Linked DNA regions of Homo sapiens: region 1 is linked to region 2. Evidence: promoter capture Hi-C in human tissues and cell types (Jung and others, 2019). All regions are on one chromosome and are shown on one strand. The core of a region is centred on a gene start or on the middle of the fragment in contact, and the rest is flanking DNA. Distances in the headings are between cores, read along the strand shown.

Region 1 (5,709 bases), core at 1,172-3,671, 190 kb after region 2:
TGTATAGTTGGGACTATAGGCGCATGCCACCATGTCCAGCTAATTTGTGTATTTTTAGTAGAAACAGTGTTTCACCATGTTGGCCAGGCTGGTCTCAAACTCCTGACCTCAAGTGATCTGCCTGCCTCGGCCTCCCAAAGGGCTGGGATTACAGGTATGAGCCACCATGCCCAGCTGGGAAAAAGTTTGAATACATTTCTCCAAAGACAACATACAAATGGCCAATAAGCATATAAAAGAGATATTTAAGTTCATTAGTCATTAGATAAACGCAAATCAAAGCCACAATGAGATACTGCTTCATTAAAAAAATACAATAGCAAGTGTTAGTGAAGATGTGGTGAAACTGAATTATTCTTTGTTGATAGAAATGTAAAACAGTGCAGTCTCTTGGGAATACAGTTGGCAGTTTCTCAAATTGTTAACCACAGTATTGCTATATGATGCTGCATTGTACTCCTAGATATTAATATGTATCCAGGAGAAAGGACTTGTTCACACAAAAACTTGCATGTGAATGTTCGAAGCAGGGTTAATCATAATAGTCAAAAGAGGGGAAACAACCCAAATGTCTGTCAACTGATAAATGGCTAAATAATATGAGGTACATTCTTACAGAGGAATATTATTTCTCAATTGGAATGAAATATCAATACATGCTACAGCATAGATAAATCTTGACAACAGTCTACTCCATGAAGGGAGCTGGTCACAAAAGACCATGTTTATTATGGTTCCATTTATATTATATCTATAGACTAGGCAAATCTATACAGACAGAAAGTATATTACATGTTTTGGGTATAGTTTCCTCTTCTTTTTCTTTGTTAACGTGGAAAATTAGATTTGAGATCATCTTCTTTTTTTGTTTTTTTTTTAAGAAAAAAGTGTTTACAGCTATAAATTTTCCTCTGACCACTGCTTTCTCAGCATCCCATAACTTTTGTTATACTGTGTTTTTGTTTTTATTTATATCAAAGTATTGTTTGAATTTTCTTTGTGATTTCTTCTCCTACCATGGGTTATTTAGAATTTTGTTGTGAATTTCCACATATTTATAAATGCCTCAAATGCCTGATATTAATTGATAATTTAATTTCATTGTGGTCAGAGAGCATATTTGGCATAACTCTAATCCTTGTGAATTTACTGAGATATGTTCAATGCCTCGTGTATAATCAGTCTTGGAGAATGTTTCATGTGTACTTGTGAAGAATGTGTAATCTGTTGTTGCTGGGTGGATTGTTTTATAGATGTCTGTTGGGCCTAGTTGGTTTATGGTGTTGTTGAAGTCCTCTATTTCCTTGTTGATCTTCTCCCTTGTTCTATTCATTATTAAAGTGAGGGGATTGAAGACTCCAACTATTATCGTTGAATTTCATACTTCTTTAATTCTGTCCATTTTTGCTTTGTGTATTTATTAGGTGTATACATGTTTTGTTATCTTCCTGATGAATTGACCCTCTTGCCATTTTGAAATGTCCCGTTTTAACTCTAGAAACATTTTTTTTGTTTTACATCTACTTGGTATGATATTACTACAGCCACTCTGGCAATTTGACAGTTGACATCTATCTCCTTTCAACACACAGCAAATCTCAATGTAATTGTATCTAGTAAGATATAGTAAAGATTAGTTCACCAAATGATTAAAAATTAACTTTTCATAACTGTACAACTTGGCTATGGTAAACATATTGTTGACTTTGGATGCATAAGGGTGTTTATGGCACCGTATAATTAAATTATGCTGCCATGTTGAAGAAAGAAATGAAGCATAGAGCTTGAACAATTCCCCTCGCGTGTTCTTACTGTCATTAAAACATTCTCCACATGCCTGAAGTGTTTGGGTGACATTCTCCTATTAAGCCTAGAGGGTATTTATTGTGATTTAGCACAAGACTAAAACTATCAAGAAAAGACTATATTCGTGCATCAGCTCAGATCGTTAGCTTATGACACTTCTACCTGATTGAGGATTCACAACATACTATAATTAATCAATCTCTATATTCAACAAATATTTACTGAACACCAACTACTTCTTGACCCTGATTTAAGCGCCTGGAATACAGTAAATGAACAAGACATACATGTTGTCATGGAACTTATATTCTAGGGTGAAGATTAAACACACAAATAAGAATTTTTCTTTATTACAGGTTATATGAAGAAAATAAAACATGATGGTGTGATAGTGAATGAAGTGGGGGATATGGATCAATTTTAAATGTGTTGGTCTGCAGAAGTATCTCTGCAGAGTTGGCATCTGAGAGGAGACCTAGTGATTAGGATCAGTTAGATGAGGAGCAGAGGGGAGAGTGACCCAGGTAGAGTGACTTGCCACTGCAAGTGCAAACTCCGGAGACCAGAATAGGGCTGTCTTATTTAGAGAGTATAACAAAGGCCATTGTGGTTGGAGCACAGTGAGCAAAAGAGGAGAGTTGGGAGAGGAAGTCAGAGAATAGACAAAGATATTAAGAGAAATCCCACACCTTAAGGGACACAATAAGGAATCTGGATGTTATTCTACATGCACTCAGAAGTCATTGGGGGTTTTTTAACTAGACAATTGATGTGATGAATGTTTTAAACACATTATTTTGGATTCGGTGTGAAGACTAGATATCAGGATGGAGATGGAGCAGGTCTGCAAGCAAGAGATAGTTCAGACAGGAGATCACACAGTGGCTGACACCAGGTATTTGCAATAGAAACTGAGAAATGGGTGGAATCAGGGTATATTTTGAAGGTAGATATGATTCCTAGGTTTGTACTCTAAATTGGGTCGTAAGTTTATTGGATTATGGCACTATTTACTAACATATAGAAGACCACTGGGAGGAAAAAACAGGTTTTGGAGGCCAACACACACACACACGCAGACACACACCCCACCAATAACAAAAAGGCAAAGCACACACATTCTGTTTTGAATATGTTAAGTTGGAGGTGTAAATGTTAAGTTTACATCTAAGTATAGATTTTAAGTAGTCCGTTAGATTAATTAGAGTATGAATCTCATCAAGGAGGTTGGGCCCAAATGTAAAAAATTGGATGCAATTAGGTGTCATCTATAGCTATGGGAGATCACCAAGAGGGAAAGCATAGATCAAAGATAGAAAAATGATAAAGACTGACTCCTGAGACCTCAGATGGGAGTCTTGCAGAAGAGGAGTGGCCAGTAAAGGAACTGAGGAAGAATGGACAGGGAAGTAGTAGGAAAGCTAAAAGGTGGGTTTCATGGGAACCAAGAAATAAAAACATTTCAATAAGGAGAGACTGTTCACTCTTTAAACTGTTGTTGAGAGCACGCAATAAGGTCGGCGAATTAAAGATTGTCTTTGGTAGTAAGGCAGTCACTGGTGCTTGGTTATGGGCAGTTCCGTTGGGTTGGAGTGAGAGAGAGAAACCCTACTGAAGGGGATCAAAGAGATGTCAGGAAGCGAAGCCATAGGGGAAGTGAATATTAGAGAGCTATTTTAATCAGTTTTGCTATGATAGGGAGCAGAGGATTCGGAGCAGCCTTTGTGGAGGATTGCAGGATCATGGAAACACTCGTTAAAAAAGGGAGATCCTACAGCAAATTTGTATGCTCATGGCAACGAGAGAGAAAGACACTAATAATTCCAAAGAGAGTCAGAAATAACCTTGAGAAGCATAGAGAGGATCCGATCCAGAGCACACTATGGTAGCCTATGCTGAGAAGACAAACATTTCTTCCATTGAAACCTGAAGAAAAGCAGAGCATATGTTTTCTAACACAGGTGGAGATGATGCTAGAAAGATACGGGAATTCCTATATGATTGTGTCTAGCTTTTCAGTGAAGTATGAGGTAATGTCATCAGTTAACAGTTACTATAACAGGTGGGTTACAAGGAATATTGGGGATCAGAAAACAGATGAAAAGGTGCTAAATGGACCTCTTGAAGAGTGGGAGAAATTTTCTTCTAGGGAGTATTTAGATTTATGAGGAATTTTTTGGTACCGTTTTGCATTTAAAGAGTACAGTTATAACAGCTACAATTATTTTCTCCAGGGCATTTTGTCAGATAGGGGGATAGTTCACGTGGTGTTGTGTCCGGAATTGGTTCCTTCCTATGGGTTTTTGGTCTGGCTGACTTCAATAATGAAACCGCGGACCCCTGCGGTGAGTGTTACAGTTCTTAAAGATGGTGTGTCCAGAGTTTGTTCCTTCAGATGTTCGGATGTGTCCGGAGTTTCTTCCTTCCGGTGGGTTCGTGGTCTTACCTGACTTCAGCAGGGAAACCGCAGACCTTCGCAGTGAGTGTTAACAGCTCTTAAAGGTGGCGCGTCCGGAGTGGCTTCTTCCTTCTGGTGGGTTCGTGGTCTCGGTGACTTCCAGAGTGAAGCCGCAGACCTTCCCAGTGAGTGTTACAGTCATAAAGATACAGCGGATCCTAAGACTGAGCAGCAGCAACATTTATTGTGAAGAGCCAAAGAACAAAGCTTCCACAACGTGGAACTGCCCCTGAGCGGGTTGCTGCTGCTGGCTGGGGTGGCCAGCTTTTATTCCCTTATTTGGCCCTGTGCACCTCCTGCTGATTGGTCCATTTTACAGAGCGCTGATTGGTCCATTTTACAGAGTGCCAATTGGTCCATTTTTACAGAGTGCTGATTGGTGCATTTTTACAGAGCACTGATTGGTGTGTTTACAATCCTTTAGCTAGACAGAAAAGTTCTCCAATTCCCACTGGACCCAGAAGCCCAGTTGGCTTCACCTCTCAGTGTTGCTTATTTTCCCAGGTGTGTGAAAATTTATTTAGAGGATCACAAAGCAATAATGTGTTAAATGTGCTTCATCACCTTCCCCCATATACACACATATCTACACATACACATCATTCACATGTGTACTGCACTCTCGTGTGTTCACACACACATCACGCTATGCACACCCACCCACCACATTCACAAGCTTATCGCACTTACTTCTTGCAATAAACGTTTATTTATTTATTTATTTATTTATTTATTTATTGAGATGGAGTCTCACTCTGTCGCCCAGGCTGGAGGCACTAGCGTGATCTCGGCTTACTGCAACCTCCACCTCCTGCGTTCAAGCAATTCTCCTGCCTCAGCCTCCAGAGTAGCTGGGCTTCCAGGTGCATGCCGCCAAGCTTGGCTATTTTTTATATTTTTAGTAGAGATGGGGTTTCACTATGTTGGCAAGGCTGGTCTCTTATCTCCTGGCCTCAAGTAATCCGCCTGTCTCGGCCTCCCAAAGTGCTGAGATTAGAGGTGTGAGCCACAGCTCTCGGCGGCAATAAACTCTTAACACTTTACTGCTGTTTTTGAAGTATCTCAGAATTGAAGAGGGCTTGTAGTTTCCTCTCGATGAATCATTGTCCTCCCTGTTTTTCAAGTGTTTTAAAAATGATCATGAAATAGAGGCAATTTTAGGGTTCTGTTGTGTCACTTTGGGTCACCCCTTTGGTGGAATTTGTCTTTGGAGCTTTTTCCTTTGACGTCTAGCATCCTATGTCCTGGCTGTCACCAGATCCTCTCAGGCAGTGAGCCTTCTCTAGACTTTCCACACCCACGCATCACTCCTGTTCTCTCATCAGCATAGCTAGATTCAGGCTGTGCGACCTATTGTGTGGTATGGGAACAGTAATAATTTATTGTGAAGATTAAAAAATATACTGCACAGAGAATGCCCAGTTTCATGTGCAGAGTATGTTTTC
Region 2 (5,583 bases), core at 50-2,549:
ATGCGCTTCTCACATTTCAGCAGCACGGGGGAATTTAGGCTCCAGGGGCAAGGCTGTCATCCTCGGAGAGCGACACCAAGGACAATTAAGTGTGAGAAAAAGAACCCCAGAGAACAGGAGGCCTCCTCACCTCCTAACTAAACTCTAAAGTCGACCCAAAACCTTCACCGCGGGTACTGGGTTACTCGCGGTCCTAAAAAGTGAGAAGAAGCGGTGTTAAGTTGGGCACTGCGCTCAGGTGGCAGGAGAGGACCAGAAAGAGGAGAGGAGGGAGGTGGCGTGGCTCTAGCAGCGCGCAGGCAGGTCACCCGCTGGGCAATACCGGCTGAACGCTCTGCGCTCCCAGGGACGCGCGGCGCGTGTGACCCTGGGGGTGAAGGGTGGGAGGGAAAGGCGCTGGGGACGGTGTATGTGGGGACTGGGGAAGCAGATTGAGAGCACGCCTTTTCCTTACCAGGTTGAGCACCGTCTCCACGATGTCCCTGTTGCTGACCTCTCCGACCTGTATGAGTCCAATCAACACTGCGAATTTCATCCGGATGTTGCGGATCGGCACCGAAGGGTTAATCATCCCCGCGGGGAGCATCACCGAGCCGGAGCCGGACGCCCCCCTTAGCTCCCCCATCCCGCTGCCCCCGGTGCCGCCACCACCGCTGCCCCCGCCGCCTCCGCCAGCGGCCCCGACGGCAATGAGCCCCACGGGCTGAGGCTCGAGCCCCGGGCCCGGGCCCGGCTTCTCGCTAGCCATTGGCCCCCCTCCTGAGGAGAAGGGAAGAGCAGCGGCGCTGCCGCCGCCGGTACCGTTATACCTGCCTCGGCCCCCGCCCCCCGGCCGTCGCCTCGGAGCCCCAGCATCCACCAGCGCCGCGGCGCCGGGCCCGCTCCCCGCCTGCGCCTCAGCCCGGCCCGCTCCGGCGCTCTCCCCCGCGGAGGCGGCGGGGGATCCGCAGGCTTATTCTCGGCGGTGGCGGTACCGCTAACCGCTGCCGGGCAAGCGGCTGTGCCCGCCCAGCAGGTGTGCCGCTGCCGCTGCCGCTGCCGCCGCCGCTGCCTCTGCTCTCTCCCTCTCCCGGTCTGTCCGGCCCGGCCCGCCCCCCGCGGAGATGCTGCAGCCGCTCCGAGAAGCCCGAGGACGCGAGCAGCTGGCCACGACGCTGGCCGGTGCTGAAGCTCAGGCTGTGGCCGATGCTATTGACGCTGCTGCCGCCGCTGCTACGGCCACCACTGTTGTTGTGAAGCCCCGACGCCGCCGCTCACTCCGCCATGTTGCCGCCCCCTGCCTGCGGTAGCAGCCACTGCGCCTGCGCACAGCCTCCGGGGGGGCGGAGCCCTCGGTGCACCCCCTCTTTTGCCCTGCCCTCCTTCTCTTCCCACCCACCCACCCCGACACCCCTCGTCCCTCCCCCAACCACCCCGAACGGATAGACAGGTGAGCAGGTGCATGGGGACTGCTGCCAGACACTGGGGCAAGCTGGCAGAGGCGGGGCGGGTAGTGGCTTCCTTGTGGTTTTTCCCTTGAGGGCGGATTCTCCCTTTGGGGAAGGACACAGTGTGCATGTCTTGCCTTCGCTGCCACCTCCTCCTTCTCTCAATATCCTCTTGCTGGGAGGAGGTTCCTCATCTCAGTTGTTGCATCCAGCTGCTGCTACTGCCAGTGCCACGTGCCTTGTAAGGTAGGGGAGTGGCAGACGACCTCTTTCTGCCCCTCCTCGCCCTTCCTCGCAGTCCTGTCCGCCTGCCCTCCCTAGAATTTCCCAAAGAAAAAGTGGCTGGCAAAGCAGAAACAAACGCGCGGGGGGGCGGGGGGGCGATCCTGCATTGTCGGGGGAAGAATACAGACGGAGTGTAATGGTGCTTTTTCTACAGCCATGAAAGAGGCTGACACCTGCACACTCAGGCACGACTTAAAATAGAACTTGTCAAACAGTGATCCTCTCTGGATCAAGCTCGGAACAACAAACAGCTCTTGAACTCGCCTCCCAGCCTAAAAAGACTGCAGTGTGTGACACTGTGGGGTAGTTTGGTGGGAACGACAAATCCCACACTTTCAAAATCCTGACAATCCTCAGGTATGATGCCAATTATTAATGTTTCCTTTTTTCACAGGCACGTACAATTCAGAGGACTTTCGAAATTATCTAAAAACATGGGTGATTCTCACTGCCAGCCTTGTCTGTGAGAAAAGTACATATCTATGTCTGCACAGATACGAGACAAAAAATAAACCTTTAATTTTTAAAAATTAAAATGTACACAGTAATCTTGCTGTTAGTATTGAATTAAAACTAAATAGGCATGACTGTTCCTTGAAAGGAATGATATAATTTTCTTTAATATTTCATGAGGTCTTCCCTTTTCAATAAAGATTATTGCAAGTCACCAGAAATATTAGGTATCTTGAGGTATATTCAGATCGTTTTAATTGTCCTCTCAAATGAAAAAGGTCAATATACAAATCCACCATAATCAGTTTTGTTATTATTCATATTTAATTGGACCTGCCAGTCAAGTTAACTCCCAGGATATGGGAACACGGTAAAATTCTAAGTACCACAGGTTATAAAAAAGTTCCTCAAAACCAGTACTTAGGATGAATTCTTGGTTGCATGTCTGTTTGTTTAAACTTGCACCAAAGTGATTGAATTGTTAAAGTAGTTAAGCAAACACTTCTGAAAGCAGTGGTAACTAGCATGTCCATTTAAATTAAATGGCAATTGAATTATAAAATGCTAGAATGCTTGAAACTGTACGGGAAATTTACAAAACATACAAGTCATAATAGTATGACTTGAGATATACTATATAATTGAAAAATCCTGTAACGTTTATATCCTTCTACTACATTTTTGTCTGTCCCAAGTGAGTATCATCTGCTTTTAAGAGTACTGTTTCATTTGCAAATTTAAAATGATATCTTTGTAAAATACATAAATCTAGACTGAAAGGTTGTCACACTAAGTTTTTTTACCCACTGTGCATATATCTATATGGCAGCAGGTTCTACCTTTTGCTATTTTTAGACTTCTTGCATGAGTACTTTGAGAGACAGTGACAACCTGAACTTTCTATTTCCTTTCTGAATGAATAGCTTAACATCATTTTTAACATTTCCATTTTGATTTTTCTTGTATTTTTTCTTAAGTAGTATGTATATGCAGTTGGTTGTATTTTTCTGCTCATTTTTCTTAGTGAAGATAGTGAGTGGGTAAAGATAATATCACCATTTCTAAGTAGGAAAACTCCACTTCTTTTGCCTACTTAATTCAATTTCAGAGATATTTAAAAGAGCTTACCAATTAAAAATCTTTCTCCAGTAGACAATCAGCTCCTCGCAGGCGCTATGATACTGTGGAAAGTGCATGATTCTTTGAGTCATAGTTACAACTTACTACCTTTGCAGTCTACTCAAGCTATTTGAGTTTCAGTCTCCTGGTTCCTTAAGTAGGAATGATAATATGTGTTTCATAGGGAAGTAAGAATTCCATAAAATAATTTCAGCTGAGCAGCTAGCATATAGTCAATGTGTCTTTGTGTCCTTAGTATACAGGCATGTGTGTTGCATGACCTATAAACACATGTAATACCAATTATAACCACATACAAGTCTGCATAATTGCACAGTTATATGTCTTCCATACCATCCCAAAAGCATAAAGTTCAGAAAAGTCAACAGGTCTATTTCTTTTTGGCCTACAAAACCTTTTCCCGGAAAATGTGCAAATAACTTTACATTTACATTAACAATATTTTGAAAGAAAAGCTACATAATAATAGAAGATACCCAATATGTATATTTTTAAATCTCCAGATTAAAAAATATATTTTATGTGGTGAATATTAATTTTGTATGCATTTTTGCATACCCATACTTCCTAAGGACAATCATTCAAAGATAAGAAACCTGTGAATCTGAGTTTCAGGAAGCAATATTGCAGAGAGGTTGAGAAGTCATGCCCCAGATTCAATGGAAGCTGGATTTAGATTCTAGTTCCACCACCACTTATATGTGTGATGTTGGGAAAATGACTTTAGCTTCAAAGCTTCAGTTTACTCAACCCAAAGTAAGGATGATAATACTACTTTATAGGATTAAAGGAGCTAATACATTTAACGTACTTAATGTAGTAGTAAGTGGCAATCAATAATGTTTCCCTTCATTGGCTGCCGGAAAATACCCACAGTTATTTTGTGTCATTATTTTTGGGTTTTTTTTTTTTTTGCACCTACCTTGCCTGACATAATTTACATTGAATAAATATGTTCAAAAATGAATGGATGGAAACAGCCGTTCTCCACACTATTCCCGTTTCCTTCACCTGTTCTTTAAAGAACACATTTCTTGCTTTCCTCTAAACTTTATCTGAACAGAATACTCCAAATTCAATGTGGGTTTAGACCTGTATAAAACAGAGGGAAATTCTTACCTCACCCTCAACCTTTAGCAATATAGCTCCTGTTAATGTTGCCCCAAATCAAATTAGATCTGTTTGGTTTGTTTTGGTTTTGGATTTTTTTCTTAACATGACACTAATGATTCGTGTAATGTAGTAATGATTCACATTTGGCACGTAGTAGGTTCTCAAATAATTTTGGTTCCATTCTCCTCTCATATTGAAATTATTATCACCATTAAATTAGTTACAGATCTGCCCATTCTTCCTGGTAATAGGTCTCGCATTCATCCCACTTTTTTCATCCTCACTGCAGCCACCCTGATTCAGATCCCAGTCACTTCATACCTGGTCTCCTCTTTTCCACACTCACTCTTCTCCAGTCCATCCTTACATGGGTAATCTTCGTAAAGGTCCATCTTGATGGACAGATTAGACCATCAGGATTAATTAGGATTAATAAAGAGTTTTACTTTATTAATCACAATAGCTTCTGCATGAAATAATTATCGACCTGAAAAACTAAGGCGTTTTCTTTTGTTATTACTGTTTTTTTAGCAGCAGCATATCTACAATTTGTAGCTTTACATGTAGATTTTGAGATATAAGTACAAAATTGAACATATCAATTTAAATTTAAATTTTATTTTAAGGCCAGGCATGGTGGTCCATGCTTGTAATCCCAACACTTCGGGAGGCCAAGGCAGGTGGGTCACTTGAGGTCAGGTGTTGAAGATCAGCCTGGAAAACACGGTGAAACCCCATCTCTACTAAAAATACAAAAACTAGCCAGGTGTGGTGGTGGCCACCTGTAATTCCAGCTACTCAGGAGGCTGAGGCAGGAGGATCAGTTGAACCCGGGAAGCAGAAGTTGCAGTGAGCAGAGATCATGCCACTGCACTCTAGCCTGGGCAAGAAACCAAGACTCTGTTTCAAAACAAAAAAAAAAGATTATTTAATACAAATTTTCTATTTAATTATCCATTAAATTTCATCTGCTAGGAATTTCTTAATCCTGATTATATCATGCAAATAATTTATTGTCTTATTAGTCTATGTGTAAATTTGGGAGCATTCCTTCTATACCTCCATTCAAATGTTGATTGAACAGGATGAAAACAGCTCAGCAGTCACCAGTATCACTCTGCTTGAATCAATTCACGTTTTTCAAACTGTGGGTCCCATCCTAATA

The links. The method cuts DNA at HindIII sites, captures the fragments that hold promoters and counts their contacts. A contact is called where the count stands out against the background at its distance.
Region 1: a contact is called between a fragment that was not itself captured here and the fragment with the promoter of NBEA in region 2, in 1 of the 25 tissues and cell types used here (dorsolateral prefrontal cortex).

The regions. Positions count from the first base shown.
Region 1 is chr13:34,752,315-34,758,023 of GRCh38, reverse strand. No RefSeq gene overlaps it. Among named protein-coding and RNA genes, the nearest start is that of LINC00457, 110 kb to the right of the region's middle. The HindIII fragment of the contact is 8,365 bases long and covers 1-5,709 here.
Region 2 is chr13:34,937,986-34,943,568 of GRCh38, reverse strand. NBEA (neurobeachin) reads right to left here and starts at 1,299. Exons shown (of 59, transcript NM_001385012.1): 1 at 455-1,299. The coding sequence starts at 748. LOC124903231 (a long non-coding RNA gene) reads left to right here and starts at 1,379. Exons shown (of 2, transcript XR_007063908.1): 1 at 1,379-1,429; 2 at 1,867-2,248. RefSeq lists silencers at 808-927, 1,368-1,437 and an enhancer at 1,608-1,717. The HindIII fragment of the contact is 6,257 bases long and covers 1-5,228 here.